Linked DNA regions of Homo sapiens: region 2 is linked to region 1. Evidence: promoter capture Hi-C in human tissues and cell types (Jung and others, 2019). All regions are on one chromosome and are shown on one strand. Each heading gives the region's core, a stretch centred on a gene start or on the middle of the fragment in contact. The rest is flanking DNA. Distances are from core to core; before and after follow the strand shown. Region 1 holds the start of MEGF10 (multiple EGF like domains 10). Region 2 has its middle 110 kb from the start of MEGF10.

Evidence for each region. The method cuts DNA at HindIII sites, captures the fragments that hold promoters and counts their contacts. A contact is called where the count stands out against the background at its distance.
Region 2: a fragment that was not itself captured here is called in contact with the fragment with the promoter of MEGF10 in region 1 in 3 of the 25 tissues and cell types used here (H1 embryonic stem cells, aorta and pancreas).

What each region holds. Positions count from the first base shown.
Region 1 is chr5:127,288,477-127,293,709 of GRCh38, reverse strand. It overlaps MEGF10 (multiple EGF like domains 10), which reads right to left and starts at 2,914. Exons shown (of 25, transcript NM_001256545.2): 1 at 2,654-2,914. It overlaps LOC105379199, which reads left to right and starts at 2,974. Exons shown (of 4, transcript XR_007058921.1): 1 at 2,974-3,132. The HindIII fragment of the contact is 12,500 bases long and covers 1-5,233 here.
Region 2 is chr5:127,182,746-127,188,646 of GRCh38, reverse strand. No RefSeq gene overlaps it. Among named protein-coding and RNA genes, the nearest start is that of MEGF10, 110 kb to the left of the region's middle. The HindIII fragment of the contact is 4,718 bases long and covers 1,592-5,901 here.

The sequences.
Region 1 (5,233 bases), core at 1,665-4,164:
AGAGCTGCCAAAGATTTTTAAACAAGGGAATAACATGATCAGATTTGCATTTTAGAAATACACTATTAAACCAAGCAGACAATCACAAAGAAGGTAAATTCACTGCTGCTAAATGAGCATGTGACTTGAGTTTTGCATTAGAATCACCTGGGGAACTTGTAAAAATGCAGACTTCTCACAACTCACAGAAGACTTACTACTTCTAAATCAAGGCAGAAGGGATTAGGGTTTGTATAGTTTGAACCATACAAAATTGCCATTTATTTAGGTCAAAAATGGTCAAATATCAGCAATTTCTCATAGTTCACTCTAATATTTTAACAAATCTCCCCACTTCATGCTTCTGGTATAAACCAAAGTCTGAGAATAGTGAAAGACAGACAGAGATAAACGCTTTTCCCTTTTCATTAATTATCGATGTTGTTACTCACTTTGATGAATATGCAAAGATGGAAGTAACGTAATTTATGTACCTAAAACAAATGTTAAAAGAGAAAAGTGGGGGTTCAAAAACAGCCACCAATGAAGTAAGGCAGCTAATTTAAGGATTTTGGAGCCAGAAGGAACACTGGAGGTTATTCTACTCTTTCCCCACCTCTCAACACAAGTTTATACATAATAAAACTGATGCCTAAATGGAGAAAAGCAATCTGCTTGAGGTCATAGGGAATATTTTGTTCAATTTCTCAATGATACGTGCTTTTTATGTGCTCTTATGAGCATTTTAACAGGTATGGAAATTGTGTAGCTAAAAATACTTGGGATTTAATTTATAGAGTGCTAGGTCACACACTTGAAATGGGAGGAGGCACATAAAGCCAATACTCATGCATAGCCATTTTTAAAATATAAAACCTAAAACAGTGCTTGACATGTAATAGATGGTTAATAAATACTTACTGAACAAATGAGTGACCTCTAAAAAATAGGTTAAAGAAAGTATATTAATGTAAAGGATTTCCAAGGAGGTATACAGGCTGTGAACTGAGTGTAGATTTCCCACCTCCTCACCTGTTCCAAGTAGTCTTTGGTGCCCATCCATGACCCACCACCCTATAAATTCCAGCTCTGCCATATACACCTTTATTTTTCCAACTGAAAGTGCCACAACAAAAAAGCAATACAAAGATCATGTCTGAGCTAAGTTTGACAATAGGTGGTAGTGAAGCTTACAGATGAGCACAGTCTTCAAAGTCCATCCAAATAGGAATAATAGCTAACACTTACTGACAGCTAATAGAAGCTATACTAGAGGGATACAACAATAGTTAATGCTAGCTATACAATAATAATAAAGCTAATTTGTGCCTACTATGTGTCAGGCTTGTTAGTCCTTCACATGCATTAACTTACTTAATCCCTTTAACAATTGTCTGATGTAAGTGCTATTATTATCATTTTGATTTTACATATGTGGATAAACAGATTAAGTAACTTACCCCAAAATCACAGAACTGAAAAGTGGCAGAGTTGTGAGCTGAACCCAGGCTGGCGGGTGCCCAGAGTTTACCAACTGAACTCTTTGAACTCTCAGTGGTAAAATTAAAAGTTCCCTGCAAGCTGACCTCTTGGAGCACTCGTGTCAGGAAGATGACATTTCTGGATAATATAAATTGGCCCCAGTATTTCTGTCCATAAGGAATGAAGCATTTTTATTTGGGAACCCTATACACAAAGTGAGACCCAGGATATAAAGGAGTAAGGCAAGAAGAACAAGAAGAAATGTCATTCTCTTCTGCCTTGGCACAGCATGGTTATCACAGCCTAAGAACAATAATAATGGCTAATTTTGGCTAATAAGATCTCCAACTTTGACTTTCTCCTAAATAATGTGGGTCCTTGCGTGAGGATATTTTCTAAAGAAGCAGCAAAGATATTGCCATCATTCATTTGCTCAGTGGTGTCACTAAGAAAAATACTTCCAGAAAGAAAATTAAGGCCAAAACACTTCCTTAAACCAGGCGTAAAAGTCCTCTAACAAGGAATTTAAAAGAAAAAGATCAACACCGGATTTATCTTTCTTAAGTAACTATCACTTGAAAAACCGTCCCTCCCAGCACTCCTTAAGGAGCCAAGCATACTGACAAGGCCCCTTTGGTCTAAGACTGCGACCTCACACCCCTACTGATCGCTGAGAACTCAGGAAAGGGGAGCATCCCGCCAGCCTAGAGCGTTATCTGCACAATCTGAATACCAAGGACGGGAGAAAGAGAAGTTTAGAAAACAGTGAAGATCCCAGAAAGGAAGTTCAACTGACCTAGAAGAAAGGGCCCAGCTGAAACTGCCTTTCAAGCTCAGTCCGATTCCCCACAAATCTCCCTACATCCAGCTATATCGCCCGGCAAAATGAAACAAACACAAGGTAAGGCAATACAAGGGCAGGAATTATGCAAAATAAAATGCGTAATGAGGATGTCTCTCCATCAAAAATACTCCAGGATTTTCCTACACAATCCCATGTAACAAAACCAAATGCAAACAACAATAAACCCTTAAGAAGCGCATGAACAACGCAGACTGAGCCCATCTCGCCCCACCTCACGCCGCACCCCGGTACCCTGGCTAAGGAAAATGTGACCCCCGCCCATGAGAAGCCTTCCGGCGTCCGGCCAAGGTCCAGGAGCCGCCGGAGTTGAGTTTGCCCAACTCTTACCCAGGTCCAGAGATCTTGAGAATCGCAGCGCAACCTTTTCTCCCCGGTCTTCACCCAAAGCCAGCCAAGACACAAAATCTGTTCCAATCAACGCGGTTAGCGTCCAAGCAGCGTCCCAGAAGAAAGCAATCTTTGGGAGTCTTCTTTCAGGCGTAAAGGTGGAGAAGCGGGAAAGAGGAACGTCTCAACGCGTTCCCAGTCGCCCAGTTTTGCGCACCGGGAAAGTACTTGCTGCAAACTTGAACAAGGTTTTCTCTGTCTGGCCCGAGATGCTGGAGGGGGTGGGGGCGGGTAACCCGAGCCGGGGCCGGGATTCGAGCAGTTGCCGCTGCTGCAGCTGCTGCTGCCGGGGCAGTGGCCGCTGGGGGGTTGTCGCTTGGCGCCGCGCGCAGTCCCTAGCGCAACATGCAGGATCTTCCCGGCCTGACTGCTGCACCTCGATCGTGAGTCGCCCCTGCCTGAGCGGCTTCCACCGCCTGGTGGGTGACCCCGCCAAAGGCCTGGTCGCGAAGTTAGCAAATGTTGGGGTCACCGCAGGGGGTGACCGAAGGGGTGTCAGAGTGGGTGCCCGCCTGATTCCCAACCCACGTTGGGTGCAAGTCCCTCGGCAGAGTCCCTGGGAGGTGTTCTAGACCCTCTGTAAGGATTTGTGGGACGGTGGCCGGCGCCCGAGCGGCCAACTGGAGTGGACGGCGGGTCCTCAGTGGTGTCAGGGGAGAAAGCGCAAAGGTGGGACCCAGAAAGGATGGTGATTAAGCCGTGCCAGAGAATGTGATGTGGCAGCAAAGTACATGGAAAGGTGGGGCGGGGAGGTGAAGGCAGAGGGTGGAGGGTGGGATAGTCTGCTTTACCATGGAGGGGCGGAGAGAGAACTCCCCGGACGCGCAGGAAAATCCCCCCAGGTCCTCGGAGGCCTCGCGCGGCAATTTATTGGGGAATGGCTCCCTCTGCCGACTCGCCGAGGAGGCCCCGGGAGGCCCAGTGATGGAATGTTAAAACCATGAACGGGCTTTTCCATTTGTGGGTTAGACAGGACATGAATTCTGGAATCTGCTTCTCTGACTGTCCATCTTCCTCTTCCAGACTAAAGAGTTTTCCAGCTTTTACAGGACCCCAAAAGATACAAATTTGACTGCTGCAAAGTTCTTTCTTGTGTCGTTGAATTCTATCCCCCTCTCCCCACAAAAAAACAAAAACAGGTTTAAGCCCCATAACCACTCCAGGTAACCATCTCCTACCAGGCTTCTCTTCCTCCCATTAATAAGAACTCTTTCTTTTTAGAGAGACTTCAAGAGCGTTCGAGTCCCTACTCAATAACGCTCCTGGAAAATAGTACAGACTCCATATTATGTTTGAGTGAATAAATGAATGGAATGAATGAACATAGATATGTTTGAAGCCCCTCACCATCCTCTTTACTCTCCCTGGAAATACACAGGGGAAGACTGTTTTGGTGTTTGTTTATTTGTTTGTTTAGCAGTCATCATTGCCCCTTCTCTGGTAACAGTACCTCCATTTTTCTTTGAGATACCATCCCTGCCACAAGGACAGCAGTCTGGGTGGAAGGTCAGTCAGGATGGTCCAGCTTTTCCCTGTCCAGAAGAGAGCAACTGACCTCAGCTAAGCCCCTCAGGCCCTCTCTGCCAGGAGTTGGAACTTTGATCTGGGCAGCACAGGCACAAATAATTCTAGAGGTGATTAATCCATATGGCTGTTTTCTAAGGAAATTGGCTGTTAGTTCATGCCACTTATTACCCAAAGATATTTTGCTTTATGAAACTTGGTTGCCCCACTTTCCTTTTAATTTTTTAATCAACTTTATTGGGGGATAAGTTACATTCCATATATTACACTCATATTAATTATACAGCTTCATGAGTTTTGAATAATGTACACACCCATGTAACCACTGCTTCAATCAAGATAATGAACAATTCCATCACCTCAGAGGGTTGTCTTGCACCCCTTTAAAGTCAACTTCTATCCCACCTCATATTTGGCCCGCTTAGCTGTTTTCTGTAACTACAGATTAGATTTGTCTTTTCTAACATTTCATATGAATGGAATCACTTACATATTCCTTTGTGTCTGACTTCCTTCACTCCACACAATGTTTTTGAAACTCATTAATGTTGTGCCTGTATCTGAAGTTTGTTCCTTTTTATTGCTGAGTAGTATTCCATTGTATGGATATACCACAATTTGTTTGCCAGTTTACCAAATGATGGACATTGGGGATGTTTTCAATATGGGGTTATTATGAATAAAGCTGCTAGGAACAATCTTTAACAAGTCCTTTTGTGGACATACATTATTATTTTTCTTATCTTACAGGAGTAAAATTATTATTACAGTAACTGTGTGTTTAACTATATAGAAAGATGAACTGCTTTCCAAAGTGGAAAACATTTTACATTCTCACCAGCAAGATATGATAATTGCTTCACATCCTCATCAACACTGGGTAGTTTCTGTCTTCTTATTTTTGCCATTCTAGTAAGTATATAGTGGTATCACATCGTGGTTTTAATTTGCGTTTCCTTACTGACTAATGATGGTGACCATAAAAGATGTTTACCA
Region 2 (5,901 bases), core at 2,701-5,200, 110 kb after region 1:
GTATTTTGAATTGAAAAAGATGGCATAATGCACTAGACTACAACATACATTCATCCTAGATTTGAATGGAGTGAAATCAATAGCTGAAATTGAGGAGGCATTTAGATTAAAAACAAGTAGATAATATTTTATAAATAAAGCTTTAATTAGCATTTATTCTTAAGTAAAATATTACAAATTTCACTTTCATTGTTACTTAACATCCCAGAATTCCTCACAAATGCCCGAGTACAAGGGCATTTGTATTCATGCAGAATATAGAGCCATAGATAAAAAGAGAAGAGCAGTTGATTGGTTTTTTTTCCCAAGAAATTGTTAATGTTACATTACATTTTATTGAACCAGCCTCAAAAAATAACAGAGCCTGAACATTATTATTGCAGTTATTACCTTTCCTTTCCAAGTGCCATATCTTGTTCTCTCTTGAGTTGATACATTCTGATTACTTTTGCTTATTTTAGAGATTTTCTTTTTTTAGTGAAAAATGCTCCACTAGAACCTCTTGTATTCAAATTTCTTCAAGTTATAACCACTTGCTATCAAATTTAAATAATCTCCCATATCTTATTGGAATCAGTGTGTTCATTTCCAACCTACACCTTCTATTTAATACATGGAATTGTTCCGTAGTGCCCTTTCTCTTTCACTACAAAGGACAAATGTGTCTTTCATTAGTCACAGTCGTAGCTCCAGCCCCACATCGCCCAAGGAATCAGGACAGCTGACACAACATCTGTGCAAATATGACTATGGCGGAATTGAGTGTGACTGAATGATTCCATGAGTCCAATTCACCTTGGATTAAGCTAGGGAACCAATTTCCAGGACCTTGAAAACAGCTGTCATGGAGCAGACAGGCCATTTAGCAAGAGGCACAGATATGGGGACACTGGCTTGGGCCATTTGCTTCTTTTCATTTCCAGAAAAGCTCCAGCAGCCCGTCCTGCTCCACCTTTCCTATCAGACTTATCATTGTTTTTTGAAACTGTGTTGCTCACCCTAGTGTGTGGATCTAATGATGCATCAAGTGTTTCTGTTTGTATGGGGGGTTTTTTTTGTTTTATGATTTGGGTTTTCTTGTTTTTGTTTGTTGTTGTTGTCATTATATTTATTGGTTGCTATTCAGAGAAGCTAAGGTCAGAGTTCTTTATGTTCGGCTTTAAGCTATTAGGCTCTTCTTTCCTATCTTTGATCAAAAGTATAATTTTGCATGGAAGAAATATAGAAATTGGATTAAAGTGTATCTTTGTGAGTTGTAGAAACTAGCTTGGGTTCAACAGGGGCAACTTGAGGGGGGGTGCTTTGGACACAGAAAAATCATGTCAGATCTAGGCTTCCCTGTTTGCACTCCTTTCTCTCCCCCATCCTGTCATCTTCAGCTGCTCGAAAAAAATATTAAATTACAGGTAACCAGAGTTGCTAGTGTCAAGAGAAATTGAGAGAGAATATCAGTAAAATATGTGTAACCAGTACATCTTATTTCACAGGCTGTATCTTGAATAACAGCCAACCTCATTCCAGGAGGGTCCCTAATGCAGTGTTCCAGCCCCCAGTGTCCATATTAACAGGAAATCAGTGTATCTGTTAGACCCCTTACACCTTTCATACATCTAATACTTCCGGGATGCTAAGTAGCCTGAGAAGGGAGTCCTGCTAATTCCTATCTCACTATTTTGCTACTTTGGAGCCAAAGGTTCTCCCTTAACGTTGGAGATTTTAGCAAGCATTACAAAAGCTGATTGATTTACGATGCACAGTCACACTAAAGGCATCTGAAGCCTAAGCAGCTTGGAAGTGACTTATTCTGCACCGATCCTGCTGTTTCTCCTGGTGCTTAGATATGGTCCTAAGTGATCAGGTGAGGCGAGGCATCCACCCATTCACACCCTGCCCGGGCTACAGTGGTTTTTCCAGGTTCCATGCCTTAGAATTCCAATCCCTTAATGGTGGGCTCAGCCAAGAAGTTCCACATCAACCTTACTGGGCTTCTAGTTGTAGCTCTTTAGATTCACTCCACAGCCTTTTCCCCAGATCAGGAGGCCCACCCTGAAATCCTGGAATGTTGGTGTCAGAAACCTCATGGTCCCAAAATTACCTGCCCACCCCTTCTTTCTCTTTTTTCTTTTTCTTTTTCTTTTTTTCTTTTTTTGACAGAGTCTCCCTCTGTTGCCCAGGCTGGAGTGCAGTGGCACGATCTCGGCTCACTGTGACCTCTGCCTCCCGGGTTCAAGCGATTCTCCCACCTCACCCTCGCAAGTAGCAGGGATTACAGGCATGCGCCACCACACCTCCTTCTTTCTATTTTTAGGCCCAAGCCTAGGGTCACATCCTACCACCTAATGAGTGAAATACTCTTCAGAGGAGGAAAACCCACTAACAACTGCTACTTGAGGATCTATAACTCCTACACCCCAAAGTCTGTTTAGATACAAGGCAGTCATCTGCTTTCATATATAATGTTTTCTTGAAAATGTGTATAACAGTCAAATATGATAACATTGAAAGATTTACTGGCATCAATTCATATGCACAAAAATATATTTAATTATGTTGTTAATATACATTGTGGTGAAAGTGGTCATTTCTGATAATAAGGAAATGGGGAGGGGTGAAGTGAGGAAACAAAGGCTGCTTTTCATAAGACAACAGAACTCTTTGTCTCTTTAAAATATGACCTTTTGCCAGGCACAGTGGTTTACACTTGTCATCCCAGCACTTTGGGAGGCCAAGGCAGGAGGATCACTTGAAGCTAGGAGTTCAAGACCAGCCTGGAGAACAAAGCGAGACTCCATCTCTTTCAACAATTTTAAAAATTAGCTGGGCACAGAGTCCCAGCTACTCAGGAGGCTGAAGTGGGAGGATCTCTTGCATACAGGAATCTGAGGCTGCAGTGAGCTATGTATGATTGTGCTACTGCACTCCAGCCTGGGCAACAGAGTGAAGCCCTGTCTGTAAAAACTAATAATGATAAGTAAATAAAATATGATTATATAAAAACAGAAAAATTAAGAATAAATACTACTTTGAGATAAAACAGAAAAGCTTTAGAGAGAAGCAAATCATATACATGGTCTCAAAACGGAATGGCTTTGGACTTCTCAGCAACAACGCTAGAAACCAGAGACACTGGAGAAATGCTTTCTAATTTTTGAAGAAAATGGTTTCGAAATTAGAATTCTATACCTGACCAAACTTACGTCTTACAGAAGGACAAGGACATCTTTAGGCATACAAGGGATATATTGGCCAAGTTAGTTTAGCAAGGCAGAAATTACTGTAGCCAGTTTAAGCCAAAAGGACTAGTTATGACGTAGTGAGAGCTCAAGACTGAGGGAAGGAAACGGATTGTGCTTCCAGTTGTGACACCCAGCTCCACAGCACAACGCTGCTCACACAAGCCATGAAACCAGGAGGCTACTGCCACCAGTGCCAGTTCCAACCTATGGCCTCTGCCATCACCAGGAAGTTGACAAATCAGGTGCTATGGTTGCACATTTAGACTCCAGAGTCCTGCTGTACTGCCGGGCCCAGAGCTGCACCAGCAAAGTAACAACCTCAGACCCTGGCTTTTTCCCAAATAATTCAGTTCTGGACCCAGATTTTGAATCTGGCACAGATGCAGTTGACTGGTGGAATCAAAACCACATGTCTGCAATCTCACAACTGGAAAATGACCTGAAAAATCTTCGTTAGGAATGCAGAATTTATAACGTGGGAAACTGCTAAAACAATGTTCGGAAACTGGAGCCAGCCTGAATAACAACTGACCACTATGTATAGACATACATTTTACCTCTTACAGACTCTCTTAGGACGCTATTAGAAGATACTAGTTTCTTCACCAAACATGAGAATGAATCAAGAAAGAGGTAGATACAAAATTAGGAAACTGGAAATCTAACATAAGAAGGCAGGCAAAGGAAATTCCCAAGATCCTAATGAAGGGAAGGTGTGAACAGAATCCAGCATAGAGCAGGAAGTTAGAGCCCGCACGGAGGTTGAGGAGGAATCGGAGAGATTGCCTGATGTGTTCAACTCTATTGAAAGTATCCTACAACTGTCAGAGAATTAAGATAGGCACGTGATTCACTGAACAACTTGGGTAGCTGGGGGAAAACAAGTATTAATCCTAAGAAAATAAAATGTTATATAAGAAAAGGAATATAATCTTAGTGTGCTACATGTCTAAGGTGTGAACTGTATTCACATGGACACAATGGTATAAACATGGAGTGCTGATAATGAAAACAACTATATTGGAACTATACTGGAAGAATGAAGAACATATATTGTTCAACTATATTGGAATTGAAGAAATGAAGTAAGGAAGGGAAGAGAATCTGTAGGAAGGCCAACACAGTGATCACCTGAGCTAGCTTCTCATTCTCCATGCAAGGAAGCCAAAGAAAATAGCTAACATTTTAAAATCAAGAAATAATGATATAGGCATTTATTTAGAATGTGGAAGCAAATACCAGAAAAAAAAAAGCAAAAATAAAAGTTGAAAATTTTTGCCTTAAGGGAGCAGGATTGTGGAGTAGAGAAGGGTTAGGATTGTTAATTTTTATTATAAGCCTGACAGTATTGTTTGACTTTTAACGTATATGTACACGTGTGCATGCACACACACACATACACTAAAATAAAAAGTAAATGTAGAGAACAGCATCTCTTGCTGTACCTTCATAGCCTTTCCCTCCCTAAGACTCATCCATCTCCTGTCTGTTTCTTTCCTTTCTATGATACACCTGCTCATTCTATAAACCATTCTCTCATCCTGTCAAGATGAAAAACTACATTGGCCACTGGCTGCTTCTGAAAATCAACCCTAGAGAAACTATAGAAGCCAGAGGGAAACATATTTGAGAAACTAATGACAAACCATAAAATAAAATAAAACACTGTGATAAGGCCCCAGGGGAGTCTGAAGACTCAGGATTGTTATATGTTGGGGGAGGGAAAAGAGAGAATTGCTTCAGCCTGGGGGGAAGGCAGCCATAGGTAGCTACTAGAAGGTCAAAGGGGAACAGCGTTTCTGTTTCTGTTCTGCCACGTGGACCATCACGGCCTGCCCAATCACCACAGAGATTGGTACCAGCAACCTAAGCTACAGGTGTCAGGAGGGTACTACAAGTGCAGTACCAAAGCCCTGCAGGAAGAAGGAGGAATGAAAGGCAGGCGTGTGCCAACCAGTATCCTGGGCATTCACTGCTGTACTACTCCCATTAGGGAACGTGAATGAAATCTATGCAGACTGCTTGTAAAGAGTTTAAATATGAAACATGGACTAGAGACATTGTGTCCGGAATCGGTTCCTTCCAGTGGGTTCTTGGTCTCACTGACTTCAAGAATGAAGCTGCGGACCCTCGCAATGAGTGTTACAGTTCTTAAAGATGGTGTGTCCGAAGTTTGTTCCTTCAGATGCTCAGATGTGTCCGGAGTTTCTTCCTTCTGCTGGGTTTGTGGTCTCGCTAACCTCAAGAATGAAGCTGCAGACCTTCACCGTGTTGCAGCTCTTAAAGGTAGCGCATCCAGAGGTGTTCATTCCTCCTGGTGGGTTCGTCGTCTTGCTGGCTTCAGAAGTAAAGCTGCAGACCTTCACAGTTAGTGTCACAGTTCCAAAGCGCAGACCCAAAGAGGGAGCAGCAGCAAGATTTATTGCAAAGACCAAAAGAACAAAGCTTCCACAGTATGGAAGGGTACCTGAGCGGTTTGCTGCTGCTGGCTCCCGTGGCCAGCTTTTATTCCCTTATTTGGTGCCGCCCATGTCCTGCTGATTGGTCCATTTTACAGAGTGCTGATTGGTCCATTTTACAGAGTGCTGATTGGTGCGTTTTTACAGAGTGCTGATTGGTGCGTTTACAAACCTTTAGCTAGACACAGAGTGCTGATTGGTGCGTT